Linked DNA regions of Homo sapiens: region 2 is linked to region 1. The links are contacts of gene promoters, found by promoter capture Hi-C in blood cells and fetal thymus (Javierre and others, 2016). All regions are on one chromosome and are shown on one strand. The core of a region is centred on a gene start or on the middle of the fragment in contact, and the rest is flanking DNA. Distances in the headings are between cores, read along the strand shown. Region 1 holds the start of CREBBP (CREB binding lysine acetyltransferase). Region 2 overlaps CREBBP (CREB binding lysine acetyltransferase).

What was found. The method cuts DNA at HindIII sites, captures the fragments that hold promoters and counts their contacts. A CHiCAGO score of 5 or more calls a contact.
Region 2: a fragment that was not itself captured here is called in contact with the fragment with the promoter of CREBBP in region 1 in 2 of 17 cell types (endothelial precursors and M0 macrophages); the score reaches 7.0 in endothelial precursors.

What each region holds. Positions count from the first base shown.
Region 1 is chr16:3,876,039-3,883,949 of GRCh38, reverse strand. CREBBP (CREB binding lysine acetyltransferase) reads left to right here and starts at 3,237. Exons shown (of 31, transcript NM_004380.3): 1 at 3,237-4,118. The coding sequence starts at 4,034. RefSeq lists silencers at 2,762-3,311, 3,332-3,381, 3,719-4,028, 4,069-4,118, 4,199-4,248 and an enhancer at 2,982-3,558. The HindIII fragment of the contact is 11,013 bases long and covers 1-5,769 here.
Region 2 is chr16:3,741,026-3,748,936 of GRCh38, reverse strand. CREBBP (CREB binding lysine acetyltransferase) reads left to right here. Exons shown (of 31, transcript NM_004380.3): 22 at 3,583-3,660; 23 at 3,976-4,043. Among named protein-coding and RNA genes, the nearest start is that of TRAP1, 27 kb to the right of the region's middle. The HindIII fragment of the contact is 665 bases long and covers 3,396-4,060 here.

The sequences.
Region 1 (7,911 bases), core at 1,988-4,487:
TGGTCTCAAACTCCTGGGCTCTAGAGATCCTTCCACCTCGGCCTCCTAAAGTGCCGGGATTACAGGCATGAGCCATCATGCCCAGTCCTTTGATTGTTTTTTAATGTGGTATCTGAGACTGGAGAGGGTGAGGTTTGTGGAAAGAGCAGGAAGCCTTAGGTGTGCACCGGAGTGAAGCCCCTTCGTGGCTGGGTGGCTTGTCCTCCTTTGTGCCTTATTTCTTCATCTGTGAAATGAGGACAATTTTTCCTTCCAGGATTGTAGGAAGTGCTATCCATGGGAGGCATGGCAGAGCGGCCTGGTATCCCTAAGGCACTCACTTGTTGAAGGTGATCCCCAGCTAAGTGAGTGCAGGCAGGAGCCACGCTTCCCTCCTTGCTATTCCCCCATCAGTGTCTGAGCTCAGGGTTCTTTGAGTCAGACTGAAGGGAGAAGAAATCGAAAGGAAAGAAAAAACAGGTATCAGTGAATACCAGAATTGATCAAAATGATACAGGTGAGAACAATGAGACAGAAAAAGGGACTGCAGAGCCGGTATATTTTGAGGGTGGAACATGGTGAGACAGGAAGACTAGGGTCTTTGGAGAGTGAGGACATGGGTTCCAGGCCCAGACTTGCCATGTCCGGGTTATTTACTTCTGAGTCCTTGCGACTGAGTTCCCTTGCTTTCCTCTGTAAAATGGAAACCTGTCAGGGAATGGCTCAAGCTCCTGTGCCCACTTCTGTGTAAACCACTCACCAATGGACCCCTGGGGGGCTGCATGGTGTCTCCACTGCCCCAAGGCAGGCCCTAAGACCTCTAGGTGGCTGGACACCTTGTCCCGTTTGAAGAGTGGCCTGGAGCCACCTCAGGCTGGGGCCCACCCTTTTCAGTGGCCTGAAGGCCTCTAGGACTCAGAGCACCTGACACAGCTCATCACTCATTCAGTTTTACAAACCTACTTCTTCTTGCAGAGCACTGTTTCTGTGACTAAGACACCATCTTTGCCCCGAAGGAGCTCACAGACCCTTGGTGAGACGGACACCCAGAGCATTCAGATACAGGGTGTGGCCTGCCCTGTGCCACTGATACACTTCTTGCCATTCCTGTGCAAACTGACTTCTTGAATACTTCCATTTATGGCTTCCAGGGTGTGCTATTTTAACTCCTTGAATATATGGGGATCTCTTTATGTTTGGCCAAGGGGATTAGCACAGTCTCAATGCCCTTGGGATTCTCAAGAGCTATTTGATGCATAAGTAAAAACATGAACTAATTCGGGGGCAGTGGAGGCGGGGAAGATGGGGCAGGATGTGTTATGTGTTCTCTCACAGAGCCCAGAAGTGATATGGGAGCCGAGGAGTGGGCTAGGAGGGCTTCCTGGAGTAGGTGACATTTGAACTGGGTTCTGGAGGATGAGTTAGAATTTGCCAGGCATGTCTTCTCAGCACAGGGACCAGCATTTGAAAAAAAAAAAAAAAAAGCCTGAATGATGTGAACTGCCTACTGGCCAAGTGGGTGTAGGATGATGATGGTGAAGTGAGCCATGTAAAGTAGAAGAGACAGATTCAAGAGCGGTATCACGGCCCAAGATTTTGAGCAGTACAGGTAAACAGAGAAAAGCAGAACGATCACTCAATCTTGACACTCAAGGACAGTCACCATATGTACATACACCTATGTTTTTAAGAGAATTCATACGTGTTCTTTTTTAAAGAAAGACTATGTAGTGTTTTCTTTTTCTATGTCTGGGATTTTGTTTTGTTTTGTTTTGTTTTTGAGACGGAGTTTCACTCTTGTCGCCCAGGATGGAGTGCAATGGCGAGATCCCGGCTTACTGGCCTCCCCAGTTCAAGTGATTCTCGCATCTCAGCCTCCCGAGTAGCTGGGATTACAGGCGCACGCCGCCACGCCCAGCTAATGTTTGTATTTTTGGTAGAGATGGGGTTTCACCATGTTGGCCAGGCTGGTCTTGAACTCCTGACCTCAGGTGATCTGCCACCGCGCCTGGCCAGGGAGTTGTTTTAAACAGATTTTCTCCCTCTCTTTTCGGGATGTTAACTCTGGTGCTGCGTGGGGAGCAACGTGGAGAGCAAAGAACACTTAAGTGAGTAGCTGCCACCATAGCCACCGGGACAGTGCGGGAGGAGCAGTCTCCCAGGTAAAGACCGTGGGTAGAGGGGCGCGTGGCGGGTGAGAGGGAGGAGTCCGCGCTGACTCACGGGTTTCTGGCTTAGGAAACAGTGGAGCTGCTGATACCTTTATGAGGAAGCCGGGCAAGTTTGGAGGGGCAGATAACTAACTGGGATGGGAACACCTCGGGTATTCGTAGAAGTGTCCCGCGGGCTGTGGTCTCGCGTGGGGGACTCCCCAGGCCCGCACCCCTGTCTGGGGCACCTGCGAGGCGCCAGGCAAGTTGCCTGGGGCGGGGAGTGCGGCCTGAGCGTCCAGGCTTAAGCCCCGATGCGCGGGCCCTTCTCCGCCCAGGCCGGCCCTCGCCACCCCGCTCTCACAGGTGAGGGTGTCTGCCCTGCCGCCTTGGGATGCGAACAGGCGTGAGGCCCCCTCACTCCCTAGTGTCACGAGGTAGGGCGGGACCCGAATCCCGGCCCTGCCACTTCCTGCCTCGACCACTTTGGAGCAGTTGCTCGCCCCCCGCCTCAGTTTCCCCATCCGCCCACCTCGTCGGCAGGACCCAAGGGCGGTCTGTAACCTGCAGAGGCCATTCCACTTCCCTGGCCGGCGGCGAAGGCTAGTGGCGCGGCCTGGGCTGGGGTCGCCCCGACCGTTCCCGACCGACGCCACCTAGGAGGGTCTGGGGAAGGGGACGCGAGGAGCTGGGAACACGCAGCGCCGCCCCAGCGGGACGGGCGGGCCCGGGCTGGCGTCGAATCCGCGCCCGAGAGCCCAGCCCGCGGCCAGGCCGCCGCTCCCGGAGCCCGCTGGGGCCCGGAGCCCCGGCCCTCTACGCCTGGTCGCCATCAGAACAAAAGCTGTGGCTCAGCCCGGAGCCCAGGCGCCCCGCAGGCCTGGCCCGCGCCGGGCCGCCAGCTTCCCTACGCTTGGCGGCCGCGCCTTCAGCCCTTCGGCCCGAGCACGCTCGGCTCTTTCCGCCACGGCCGGCGCAGGTGGAGGGGGCGGGGCGGGGGCCGTGCGTGGTGACGCCGCGGGGGGGTGACGCACCGGCGTGCCCCGCCCCCACCCCCTCCCCGTTCAGGCTCTGGAAAGAGAAGAAAAAAAACTTTCTTTTTTTTTTAATTGAGGAATCAACAGCCGCCATCTTGTCGCGGACCCGACCGGGGCTTCGAGCGCGATCTACTCGGCCCCGCCGGTCCCGGGCCCCACAACCGCCCGCGCACCCCGCTCCGCCCGGCCGGCCCGCTCCGCCCGGCCCTCGGCGCCCGCCCCGGCGGCCCCGCTCGCCTCTCGGCTCGGCCTCCCGGAGCCCGGCGGCGGCGGCGGCGGCAGCGGCGGCGGCGGCGGCGGAACGGGGGGTGGGGGGGCCGCGGCGGCGGCGGCGACCCCGCTCGGCGCATTGTTTTTCCTCACGGCGGCGGCGGCGGCGGGCCGCGGGCCGGGAGCGGAGCCCGGAGCCCCCTCGTCGTCGGGCCGCGAGCGAATTCATTAAGTGGGGCGCGGGGGGGGAGCGAGGCGGCGGCGGCGGCGGCACCATGTTCTCGGGGACTGCCTGAGCCGCCCGGCCGGGCGCCGTCGCTGCCAGCCGGGCCCGGGGGGGCGGCCGGGCCGCCGGGGCGCCCCCACCGCGGAGTGTCGCGCTCGGGAGGCGGGCAGGGGATGAGGGGGCCGCGGCCGGCGGCGGCGGCGGCGGCCGGGGGCGGGCGGTGAGCGCTGCGGGGCGCTGTTGCTGTGGCTGAGATTTGGCCGCCGCCTCCCCCACCCGGCCTGCGCCCTCCCTCTCCCTCGGCGCCCGCCCGCCCGCTCGCGGCCCGCGCTCGCTCCTCTCCCTCGCAGCCGGCAGGGCCCCCGACCCCCGTCCGGGCCCTCGCCGGCCCGGCCGCCCGTGCCCGGGGCTGTTTTCGCGAGCAGGTGAAAATGGCTGAGAACTTGCTGGACGGACCGCCCAACCCCAAAAGAGCCAAACTCAGCTCGCCCGGTTTCTCGGCGAATGACAGCACAGGTGAGGAGGGGGTCCGGGGCGGCGGGGGCCCGGGGCGCGCTGTCACCCCCACCTGAAAGAGAGCGTCCGGGGGTCGTGGTCGCGGATACCGATCGAGCCGGGAGCTCGGAGCAGGCCCCGCAGCCCGTTCCCCTCGCCCCGCGCGGGAGGGTGGAAGTTCGTCGCAGGACTGTCACTGGGCCCGAGTTGGTCAGCACACGCCCGGTGCACTCGGCCTCCCCGCACCCGATCAGCCCTCCTCGCGGGGACCCTAGTGGCACTCCAGGAGGGAAGAAGTAAAGTGCAGCGTGTGGGTTTGTTTGGTAATGTCCTACGCATCCATCCGCGGCCGTGTCCACACGCGTGGCCGTCCAGAGGAATGACAGCGGAGGGTACCTTTGATGCTTAGAGAAAGCAAGATCGCGGCCAAAGGTAGGGCAGTGTGTTTTCTGGATTGGCGACACATTGACCAGGCTGCATTCAGAGGACACTCACAGCAGCCGCCAGCTTGCGAGTTAGAACCGAAGTTTCTTGGAATGAGTGAGTTCCTTGGAAAGATGCTTAGTGCTTATTTTCAAAACTCCTTGTTTTGTGTGTGTGTGTGTGTGTGTGTGTGTGCGCGCGTGTGTGTTTTTAGTCAACTAGTCATTCCATTTTTCAAAACCCAAACTTCGTTAGCAAGATGTCATGAAAGTTGCTGTGGTGTGTTTCATTTCCATGTATAACTTCAAAAGAAAGTTAAACAGCAGGTTTAAGTTCATTTGGGCTGCAATCTCCATTTGAGTTTGTGTTGCTTTCACAGTGTAGATGTACAAAGAATTAAGGAATGTAGGAATTCCAATTTTTCAAAAAAATGGAGCAGGATACTGAATAAATCATCTTTTTGTTTGTTTCCTTTCATTAAACGGCTTCCCTGGAAACTTTCTTAAGTTATCATAGCTGCTTAAGAGAAGTATTTAGTTTTCTATTAATTCAGTAATTCTGGGTCCCACTGCGCTGGTTCATGGTAACATGAACTAGTTGTATTTCCTCTTTTAGAGCTCTCTCCTTTGCCGCAAAAACTTGTGTGCCGCTGCGAACAATTCCATCTCCAGCGCAGCTTGCATTTCTCCAGTAGTCTTGCAGTGGTAGCATCTGAAAATCAGTTTCTAATGAATGAGTCCAAATTGAATTACATCGCTGCCTTCAGATTTGCACTAGACACAGCTGTTCAACTTGTGGAAATAGTTCTGTGACCGACCACTAGCATATTAAAAAAAACTGCTATTGCTGTTGAAACAAAACCTGAATTTTGTGGCTTAAGTTTGAATACAATTCCTGGAATCAAGTTATGATAAGCGACGTTTAATATTAATGTAGAAGTGAAAAGCGATTTTTAAAGATCAATCATAAGGAGATTCTTATCTAGTTAAAATTTGTTAAACAGTGGGGAGGAGTAAATGATGCTCATGGTATATAAAAATCACTAATGCTTTTCTTTTTAGCTGATAAAAGTTGAGTTTGACGTTAATCTTATAAAATGAACTTATTGAAGTGAGAAATTTGGAAACAGTAGTTTAAATGCCGTTGTACTGCAAAACAGATCTCCGTTGCTTCATTAATCTTGCTGTGTTTGAGTAGTCTTCAGTTCTGTGAGACGTAGGTCATACGTGGCGAGTTCAGCTTTGAAGCTTGTCTTCTGAAACTGGTAACCTGGATGGCTTTGTAGCTTTGCTGTTGTTGAATGAATTTGTTGTAGATTTTGTCTTAAAAAGGGGGACAATTAGTAACACAAGACTTAACAAAAAGGCATGTCCTTATATGTACATCCAGCTGTTTCCAAGATGGAGCCCAAAGGTTAGCTTTTTCCATAGTAGTGTCCATTATTGGATGATCAGATGCTTAATAAGTTGATCAGAAAGGATTTTCCACACTTAACCACCTTTTCCCCCTTCCTTTACAATTTTGATCCTTGTAAGGCACAGGGGCTCTTTCGTGGGACCAAAAGTCAGCTTTAAATGGCTCCGATTTAATCCAAAGTAGAAAGTCAACATCATACTTAAGTTGGGTCATGTGTTACACATTCATCACCATCACACTATTGTGAAAGGGTCTGTTAGTATGGGGGACCAAGGAAGGGCTCATTATCAAGCACATTAAACAAGGGGCTGCTGGGCGCCATGGCTCATGCCTGTAATCCCAGCACTTTGGGAGGCGGAGGCTGGTGGATCAACTTCAGGTCAGGAGTTCAAGACCAGCCTGGCCAACATGGGGAAACCCCATCTGTACTCAAAATACAAAAACATAGCCAGGCATGGTGACATGCACCTGTAATTCCAGCTACTTGAGAGGCTGAGGCATGACAATTGCTTGAACTCGGGAGGCAGAGGTTGCAGTGAGCCAAGATCGCGCCACTGCACTCCAGCCTGGGTAATGGAGTGAGACGCTGTCTCCAAAAGAAACGAGGGACACTTTGTCTGTTGTAACTGCTCCACTAAGAAATTGAGTAATGAGATGGACAGAGATCTTAGGGATGTATTTTAAACAAATAAATGGCTTGAGTTTTTACATTAAATACATTCAAAAACTGAAGGCATTTGGTTAGGTGGGACAGACCTGAGAATAACATTCTTGAGGAACTCAATCTTATTTTAGTGACGGGATGTGTCTCTGAGGCTCCCAGGGGAAAATTGGGCCTAGTGGAGCAGGGTGTGTGCCCGGTGCATGTGATCAAATTTGAGGGAGGGGACCTCTGTCTAGGAGCTGAGGGGTTGAAAGGAGGAGGAGCCCTTGGCAGCCTGAGAAACAGGATCTACTTGGACTGCAGTGCATGTCTGTAGAGACTGGCCTGTGGGGCCACCAGTGTCACTTAGATGTGTCTGTGAAGGGTGGCAGTGAGCTGAGAGAAAAATGCACCCGACATTGGGGAGCTGCTCAGCCAGGGTGCTGCTCATCTGGGGGCATGGATGTTGCAAACAGCACTCCCGAAGGTCATGCAGCACCTCAGAGTGATGAATGTCACTGCCACTGATGACAAACAAGTTGCCGAAGCCTGGGAAGCTTATGCAGAGATGATGCAGAAATACGGAATGTGCTGCGAATGAGGGTAGCAAGAGAGAAACGGTACCTTTCACCCCACTGAAGCAGCAGCCCTGGAGAGGCACAGAATTTGATGGCCTCAGATGTTAAAGTAGCATTTTCTTGTATTATGTAGAAGCCTTTACACTTTCTCATACATGAGGTCTTCCTTTACTTGGCACCCTTACAATAAGTGGGGACTTTATATTACCGGTATATAGTTAGTTGGGTGTTTTGGAAACTTCTTTATTTAATATGTCCAAGTTAAAATAGCATATTGTGTCTTTCAACATCAGAGATTCATGATTTAACAGTATAAGACAAATATCCAGGCAAGCAGTAGACTTTTGTTTTTTGTTTTCTGGGTTGTTTTTTTTTTTTTTTTTTTTTTTTTTTGGTCAGCTTTATTGCAAAATTTGCACACAACAGACTGTTTATAAAGTTTTTTGAAATTGCAGGCCAGGGTGGTGGCTCATGCCTATAATCCCAGTGCTTAGGGAGACTGAGACAGGAGGATTGCTTGAGGCCAGCAGTTGGAGACCAGCCTGGACAACATAGTGAGACCCCATCTAAACAAAAAATTTTTTTAATTAGTTGGGTGTAATAGTACAATCCTGTAATCCCAGCTATTCAGGAGGCTGTGGCAGGAGGATCGCTTGAGCCCAGGAGGTCGAGGCTGCAGTGAGCTGTGATCATGCCACTGCACTCTGGCCTGGGTGACAGAGTGAGACCCTGTCTCTGGGGGAAAAAGGAAAAG
Region 2 (7,911 bases), core at 2,479-4,978, 140 kb after region 1:
TGACCTCAGGTGATGTGCCTGTCTCGGCCTCCCAAAGTGCTGGGATTCCAGGCGTGAGCCACCGCGCCCGGCCCTGTTAAGCACTTTTCTACAGTGATGAGTGAGAGTGCTGCATTTGCTAACCTTGCTTCATAACAGCCCCTAAAGAGACTTCAGATTTTTTTCAGTGTGGTAGCCTCTTCCCAGGTCCCCAATGTAAAGTTCTGAGGGCGCTCCAAATTGGCATGGCGATACTGGCTATTTTTTGTCCCCAGGGTGAGCACAGGCTCCAGGAGCGTTGGCTACTTGGGAAGTGTGGGCTGTGACTCAGCCAAGGCAAGAAACAGACCCTGCTCTCCCTATCCTGACCCTCTCCAGGGAAGCCAGTGGCTAGAGTGGCAAGCACAGATTTCTACCCAGGCCACCTCTGGAAACCTAGCTTGACTTTTGGCAGGTTACTTCATCTCTACCAGCACATGGTACACAGACAGGACGATGATGTGAAATCCTAGAGCTGTAGTCTTGGCGAGATGCCAGGGCAGAGCGCCCACCCCTCTCATGACCATCGGATTGTTTTTCCTGACTTTCCACCTTTCTTTTCACATTGTGTCTTTCTCTCCTTGGCTTTATAGTTTCATTATTATTTATATCTACTTTTCTTTCCTTTTTTTTTTTCCCCCTGAGACAAGTCTTGCTCTGTCCCCCAGGCTGGAGTGCAGTGGCGCGATCTCGGCTCACTGCAGCCTCCGCCTCCCAGATTCAAGCAATTCTCTGCCTTGGCCTCCCAAGTGGCTGGGATTACAGGTGCCCGCCACCACGCCCAGCTAACTTATGTATGTATGTATGTATGTATTTATTTTTATTTTTGAGATGGAGTTTCACTCTTGTTGCCCAGGCTGGAGTGCAATGGCACAATCTCAGCTCACCGCAACCTCCGTCTCCCGGGTTCAAGCGATTCTCCTGCCTCAGCCTCCCGAGTAGCTGGGATTACAGGCATGTGCCACCACACCTGGCTAATTTTTTTGTATTTTTAGTAGAGACGGGGTTTCACCATGTTAGCCAGGATGGTCTCGATCTCCTGACCTCGTGGTCCACCCGCCTCGGCCTCTCAAGGTGCTGGGATTACAGGTGTGAGCCACCGCACCCAGCCTGTATTTTTAGTAGAGACGAGGTTTCACCATCTTGACCAGGCTGGTCTTGAACTCCTGACCTCGTGATCCACCCACCTCGGCCTCCCAAAGTGCTGGGATTACAGGCGTGAGCCACCGTGCCCGGCCAATTTATATCTACTTTTCAACTTCAAAATATATTACATTCAAGTAGTAGGTGCCAGGCAGAGGGAACACATGGATGAGTGAAGGGGTCTCCTTCCTGCTGGTTGTAGTCTAGAGAGACAGCTGGGTAATGGCACAGCCTGCAGCAGGAGACAGTACAAGTGAGTCCCAGACAGAAGGGACCCTGCTTGGGCAGAGCGGCATCACCACAGTTGCGCCTGGTTTCCTGGACAAGATGACATTTACATTGAAGCTGCAGAGCATTCTAGAAACAAAGGCATGAAAGAACACAGGTTGCTCAATAAAACTACAAGGCCCCTAGAGTGGGTGGTTGGTAGGCAGAGGTTAACTTCATGAAGGGCCATTACACTGTCTCTTGACGTTTAGACTTTATCCTATAATGTGCTGAGGAGGTTTTGAAGAATAGCACTGGTTCTAGTGTAAGAGGGTCATCTTTGGTCTATGAGGTGAACTGAACAGAAGAGGAGAAGACATTGTTCTGTAGTAGAGAAGTTAGTTAAGAGACACAAAGCAGGAGAAGGCAAGAAACTGAAACACCAATTAAAGCAAGAGCTTTTGGAGCCAGGCAGGGGGGCTTGCTGGGGGACTGAGGGAAGGGGAGACATCTAGTTGGCCCATAATAATTGGGAGTGGGAGAAAGGGGGAAATTCAAAATGGATGTCATGGGGTCTAGAATATGCAGTGTGTTTTGTTTGTTTGGATTTTGTTTGTTGTTTTTGAAACAGGGTCTTGCTGTGTCACCCAGGCTGGAGTGCAGTGGTGCAGTCATAGCTCACTGCAGCCACAACCTCCCAGACCCAAGCAGTCCTCCCAGCTCAGCCTTCTAAGTAACTGGGACTACAGGCACACACCACCATGCCCAGCTAATTTTTAAATTTTTTGTAGAAATGGGGTCTCCCTATTTTACCCAGGCTGGTCTCAAACTCCCAGTAAAGCAATCCTTCCACCCCAGCCTCTCCACATGCTAGGATTACAGGTGTGAGCCACTGCACCTGTCCCCAGTGTAGTTTTGGGGGACACTCCTTTCCCCTGACATGGGAGGGAAGAGTTGAGAGCAGGGGACCTTTGGAGACGGCACAGGAATTGAGGAAGTTCTTGGCCCCAACCTTTGAAATTCTTAGCGTTGGGGATGAGCTCAGTGGCTGAGTTGTCAAAGACAGAGCTTGTGGAGGATAAGCACTGGAGGAAAGGAGTGCAGATTCAGAGCAGCTGCCACGTGGAAGGGAGAGGTAGCCAGACAGAGCCGGGCTGTCAGAGAGTGCCATAGGACCATGAACGGGTGCCGCCATTTGTGTGTGTGTGTTTTTTTTTTCACAGATCTGTGTGTGTGTCTTTTCTTTCCCTCCAGCAGACTGGGCAGAGAAGCCAGATGAGGGTAGACCCATGGCTGAGGGCTTGCATAGCACGTGCAATGGACAGATTAAGGGGACGAGGGCAGGGGCACACTTTAGAGGAGCTGTAGCTCAAAGCTCAGGAGCACACAGGGAATCACATTACTCACCAGTCCCTTCAGCCTATCCTCGGAGGTATGCATTGTGGTGGCAGCAAGGGAGGGAGCTGACAAAAACCCAAGGTCTTGACCTCAAAATGTCATCTTGGCATTTAAGATTCCTGGGTTGAGGCGGTTCCTGGAGGTGACGGAGCCCTGGTGGGCCGTGGTTGTGGGCTGCCGTAGAACAGTGTGGAGGATTCGTGGGGAATGGGTGGTCCATTCTCTCGCTTCACCAGTGTTTACTTGAATAAACCCTTGTCAACTTGCCAGTAGGCCTGACACATTCCACCTTTTGTAACTGACTCAGAACTGGTGTTTTTGTGCCTCGCGCCTAGCGTGGCTGCTCTGAACTGGCCGTGTTTCCCATTAGTATCCTCAACAATTTTAGACTTAAGAGCACATGTTTAGAACTCAAAGTATTGTTCTCTATTTTTTAAGTCAGTTTTGGCATGTGAAATCACCTAGAGAAGGCATTGTTCTTGCAAATGTGTAGCAGTGTCAGAAATACCGGCCTGTGAAATATGTATTTGTCGCAGCAATTTTTAAAAAGTAAAGTTTCCTTTCTGGTTGCAAAGGGAGATTGGGAGAAAAGAGGAATGAAGCGCTTGTACAAACAAAAGAAGAAAGCTTTTTCCTGTAGAAGATATCATACGGATGCATTGTAAAATATAGCTGAATCAGCCAACACACGCATTAATGTCAGCACTACTCAAAGTAACCCAGAGAACAAGGTGTGGACGCACACACAGACTTCTACAAGTGACTCTGGTCTTGTGGTTCCGTGTGCTTTAACAGTGCGCCTTCTTTGCCTCCTAGTTTCGTTGATTGCAAGGAGTGTGGCCGGAAGATGCATCAGATTTGCGTTCTGCACTATGACATCATTTGGCCTTCAGGGTGAGTTGTTTCCCCTGGCCTGGAGGGCAGTTCTGCACAGAGCCAGTGGCGGGGCAGTTGCAGTGGCTACTGCATCTCATTCATTGTTGTCAGCAAGAATTCAGCGATTAAGAGAGATGGCAGTTGGTTCTAAATTTAAGTTCTAAGCGTTTGTCCGCTTTAGGAATTGTGGAATCAAAGCAGTCTGCCTCTTCACTCTTTAATTTTATAATAATGTGATTTAAACTGCCAACAAACTATCTGAATGCTGCATTTTGTTGGTTTGACAATTTACATCATTATATACAGTCTCATCATACCACTATTATTTTGCAGTTTTGTGTGCGACAACTGCTTGAAGAAAACTGGCAGACCTCGAAAAGAAAACAAATTCAGTGCTAAGAGTAAGTTTCGGGAAGCTTTCTGTTTCCTGGACTGCACATTTTAGAAACTTGTAGAAATTGTCCCCATTGTTCTTTGGTTCCTCTCAACACATGGTTCTGAGGTTCGGTTGTCAAAGATTTTCGTTAGTTTTTTCCCCAGTACTTTGTATTTTTCTTGTCTCATCCTTAAGGAGAGCCAGGCCAGTCATGAGGGTAAGAATGCAAGAATGTTCTTCAGGGGCTTCACTGAGAATAGGCAGCACAGCTGTGAGTCCCTGAAGTCTGTGCTTCTCAGAATGGTCATCTCAGCCACGGGGCTGCTGAGCACAGAGCTCAGAGCAGGACTCGCAGCCTTGGGCTGTGGATCTTCATCAAGTGTAAAACATCTCAGTCCACCCTTAAAGGGAATATTTGGCCTGATTGTTATATGAAAGTCAGCATTTATGATCAGCGCATGTTTTAGATGAAAGGTTAGATGTGCAGTAAACTTTGTAAATTCTGAGAAAATTTATCAACAGATTATTCTCAAGTGGTTTAGACCTAAGACCCCTCACCCCTCGTGCGTGCATGTGTGGTGTAATGTTGGCCAGCACTCTCTAACCCTGGGCCCTATGTGGGCTGCCGTGGGTCTGTCCCGTGGGTGCTGGCTTCTGCTACAGTGGGGTATGAGCCATGGCCTCTGGGAACCAGCCACCACCCCAGGAGCGGTAGGAGCCTGGCCTGCATGTGGACTTGGCTGGACATGTTACTGCAGCTGGTGGTGCCTGTGCAGAAATAGAAGGAACAACCTGTTACTGCTAGAAGTAACTTTGCATGAGTAGACTTTCTTTTTTTTTTAATTTGAGACATTCTCGCTCTGTCGCCAGGCTGGAGTGCAGTGGTGCAATCTCAGCTCACTGCAACCTCCACCTCCTGGGTTCAAGCGATTCTCCTGCCTCAGCCTCCCGAGTAGCTGGGACTACAGGCGCCCGCCACCTTGCCCAGCTAATTTTTGTATTTTTAGTAGAGACGGGTTTCACCATGTTGGCCAGGACGGTCTCAATCTCTTGACCTTGTGATCCGCCCGCCTCGGCCTCCCAAAGTGCTGGGATTACAGCCATTAGCCACCGCGCCCGGCTGACTTTTTTTTTTAAGACCACATTGCATTGTTATCAAAAGTTTATGGTTATTTAATCTTTATAGAGTCAATTCTCAAGTCTTGGGATGGCCTTCTGCAGCTTGACGCGCCAGGCTGGCCTTTTGCCGAGTTAACCAGCAAACCCACACAAGAACGGCAACTGCAGCAGTGTTCTAACATTGACTTGCCAGCTGCTCCCTACAGCTGTCACCTTTCTCTGGCAGGACAGGTGACTAGCATGTTGCTCAGGAGATCCCCAATAGAACCAGGGTCATTTGGGGAGCTCAGAGTAGAAGAGAGATGGAAATGCTAGGATGGACCATGCACTGGGGGAAGGGGAGGAGGAAGCCACCCTGTAGACTTGAGACTGAGTCTTAATTCAAGTTCAAACTCTGTTGTTAACCAACATCCAAAGTTATGCAATAGCTTACACTGCCTCTGTTAAAAACTTGTGAAATATCACTCATTGATAAACTATTGTAATACTTTTCCTTAGCTCGGTTTCTCAACTGAGGCACTGTTGACATTTCAGGCCAGGTAACCCTCTGTTTTAGGGGCTGTCCTGCGCATTACAGGATTTTAGCAGCATGCCTGGCCTCTGCCCACTCAGTGCCAGTAACACCTTCCTCAGCAATTCATTACGTCTGTCAGAAATGTCTCCAGACATTGCCAGATGTCCCCTGGAGGGGCACAGTTGCCTCCATTTGAGAGGCCCTGCTTCAGAGGATTCACTCTGAGTGAGTTCGCTAATGCATTTGAGCAAATTGGAAGTTCTTCCCTGGGCCAGAGGCTCAGTAGCCAAAACAGAATTACCCAGAGAACTAGGCCTCCGTAGAACAGTCATTGCCTGAAAGGGGCAGGAGGTGACTGGGCGGAATGGCACAAGTGGCCCCAGAGCAGGTCCAGCCCCCTCCCACCGCAGCATCCAGAAAGACCCGTGGGCATTCGGTAGATGAGCCCAAGATCTAGAAATGGAACATTACTGGAGAAAAGGGCCTAGGAGACTAGAGGTAGCTCTACTCTCAGTGTGAGCGTGTGTCAGCACAGGCGTTGTGGTGTCTGATCACAGAGTAAAGGTATGCTTCCTTAATCTTGCATTGAAAACCATCTCCTTCGCATACACCATATGCAAAACCAAATTCAGGTAGATTAAAAAGCGAGAAAAGTAAACAAAACTGCAGATGCATTCAGGATAAAAGTAAGATAATAATTTTATTGTGTTGAGTTATGAAAAGCCTTCCTTAAAAAGATACAGCCCAGAGATGAGAAAGGAAAAGGCACAAAAGGCCCCTGTCATGCGCCATGGATGAAGATACAAGTTGAATGCCAGAAAGCGAGGGGCACAATTTAAAGTGTTCATTTTTAGATTTAGCAAGTCTACTTTCACACATGTATCCTATAAAAATATTTGCACATATGCATAACGGCACATACAAGGACATAACTGCAGCAATGGCAAGGAGTGATGAAAAAGTAGGAACAGTGGCCAAATCGAGTGATAACAGAAAAGGAGGCAGCACTGTGAGGAAGGTTGCGCAGAGTGCACCGCAGTGAGCACGGCCTGCGCCTAGACCCCTGTGCTGTCTGAGACCACCTCTGGAGTATGCAGCCATGTGTGGATCACAGGTGTCAAATAGCGAAGTTACTCTGGAAGAGTTTTTTTTGTTTGTTTTTTTGGGGGGTTTTTTTGTTTTTTTTTTGTTTTGTTTTGTTTGTGCAGACAGAGTCTCGCTCTGTCGCCCACACTGGAGTGCAGTCACGTGATGTCGGCTCACTGCAAGCTCTTGCCTCCCGGGTTCACGCCATTCGCCTGCCTCAGCCTCCCGAGTAGCTGGGACTACAGGCGCCCGCCACCATGCCTGTAGTCCTAATTTTTTCTGTTTTTTAGTAGAGATGGGGTTTCACCGTGTTAGCCAGGATGGTCCCGATCGCCTGACCTCGTGATCCGCCTGCCTCGGCCTCCCAAAATGCTGGAATTACAGGCATGAGCCATCGCTCCCGACTTAATTTTGCATTCTTAGTGGAGACGGGGGTTTCACCATGTTGGCCAGGCTGGTCTCGAACTCCTGACCTCAGGTGATCCACTCGCCTCAGCCTCCCAAAGAGCTGGGATTACAGGTGTGAGTCACTGCGCTCAGCTTAATTTTGTATTTTTAGTAGAGATGGGGTTTCTCCGTTTTGGTCAGGCTGGTCTTGAACTCCTGACCTCAGGTGATCCACCTGCCTCGGCCTCCCAAAGTGCTGGGATTACAGGCATGAGCCATTGTGCCCGGCCACATTTTTCTTTTTAAATCATTTTTATTCAGGTACAACTTATCCAAAAATCAGCACCACTGGTTTGTTTATTGCAGAAAAATGAAATTTAGAAGTTTGGTCTAAATTTTCTAGCTCGCTAAGGAATCTTCGAAAATTCCCAATTTTCCTATTTCTCACTAATGTAGGAAATATTTAAAAGCCAGCAAAGAAGAAAACATCTTTTAAAATCTCATTGTCTATACGTAATCACTAAGAACCTTTTGCAACTTTCCCTTATAGTTTTTTAACCTGTATATGAGGCGTTCTCTGTCCTGAAGTAATGTCCTGCCTCTGGCTAGCTCCTGTGACGGTAGCCCTCCCGGGGCTGGCCCTGGGTGAGGAGGGGTGGCGGCGGGGAGGTGAGCCCAGGAAAGGCTGCCCTCGCCAAGGCTCGGAAACTTCATTCGTGCACCGCACGAGGCGATGGCTCAGGGCAGGCTTGGACACCAATACTTTGCCAGCTCCTGAGGCACCGGA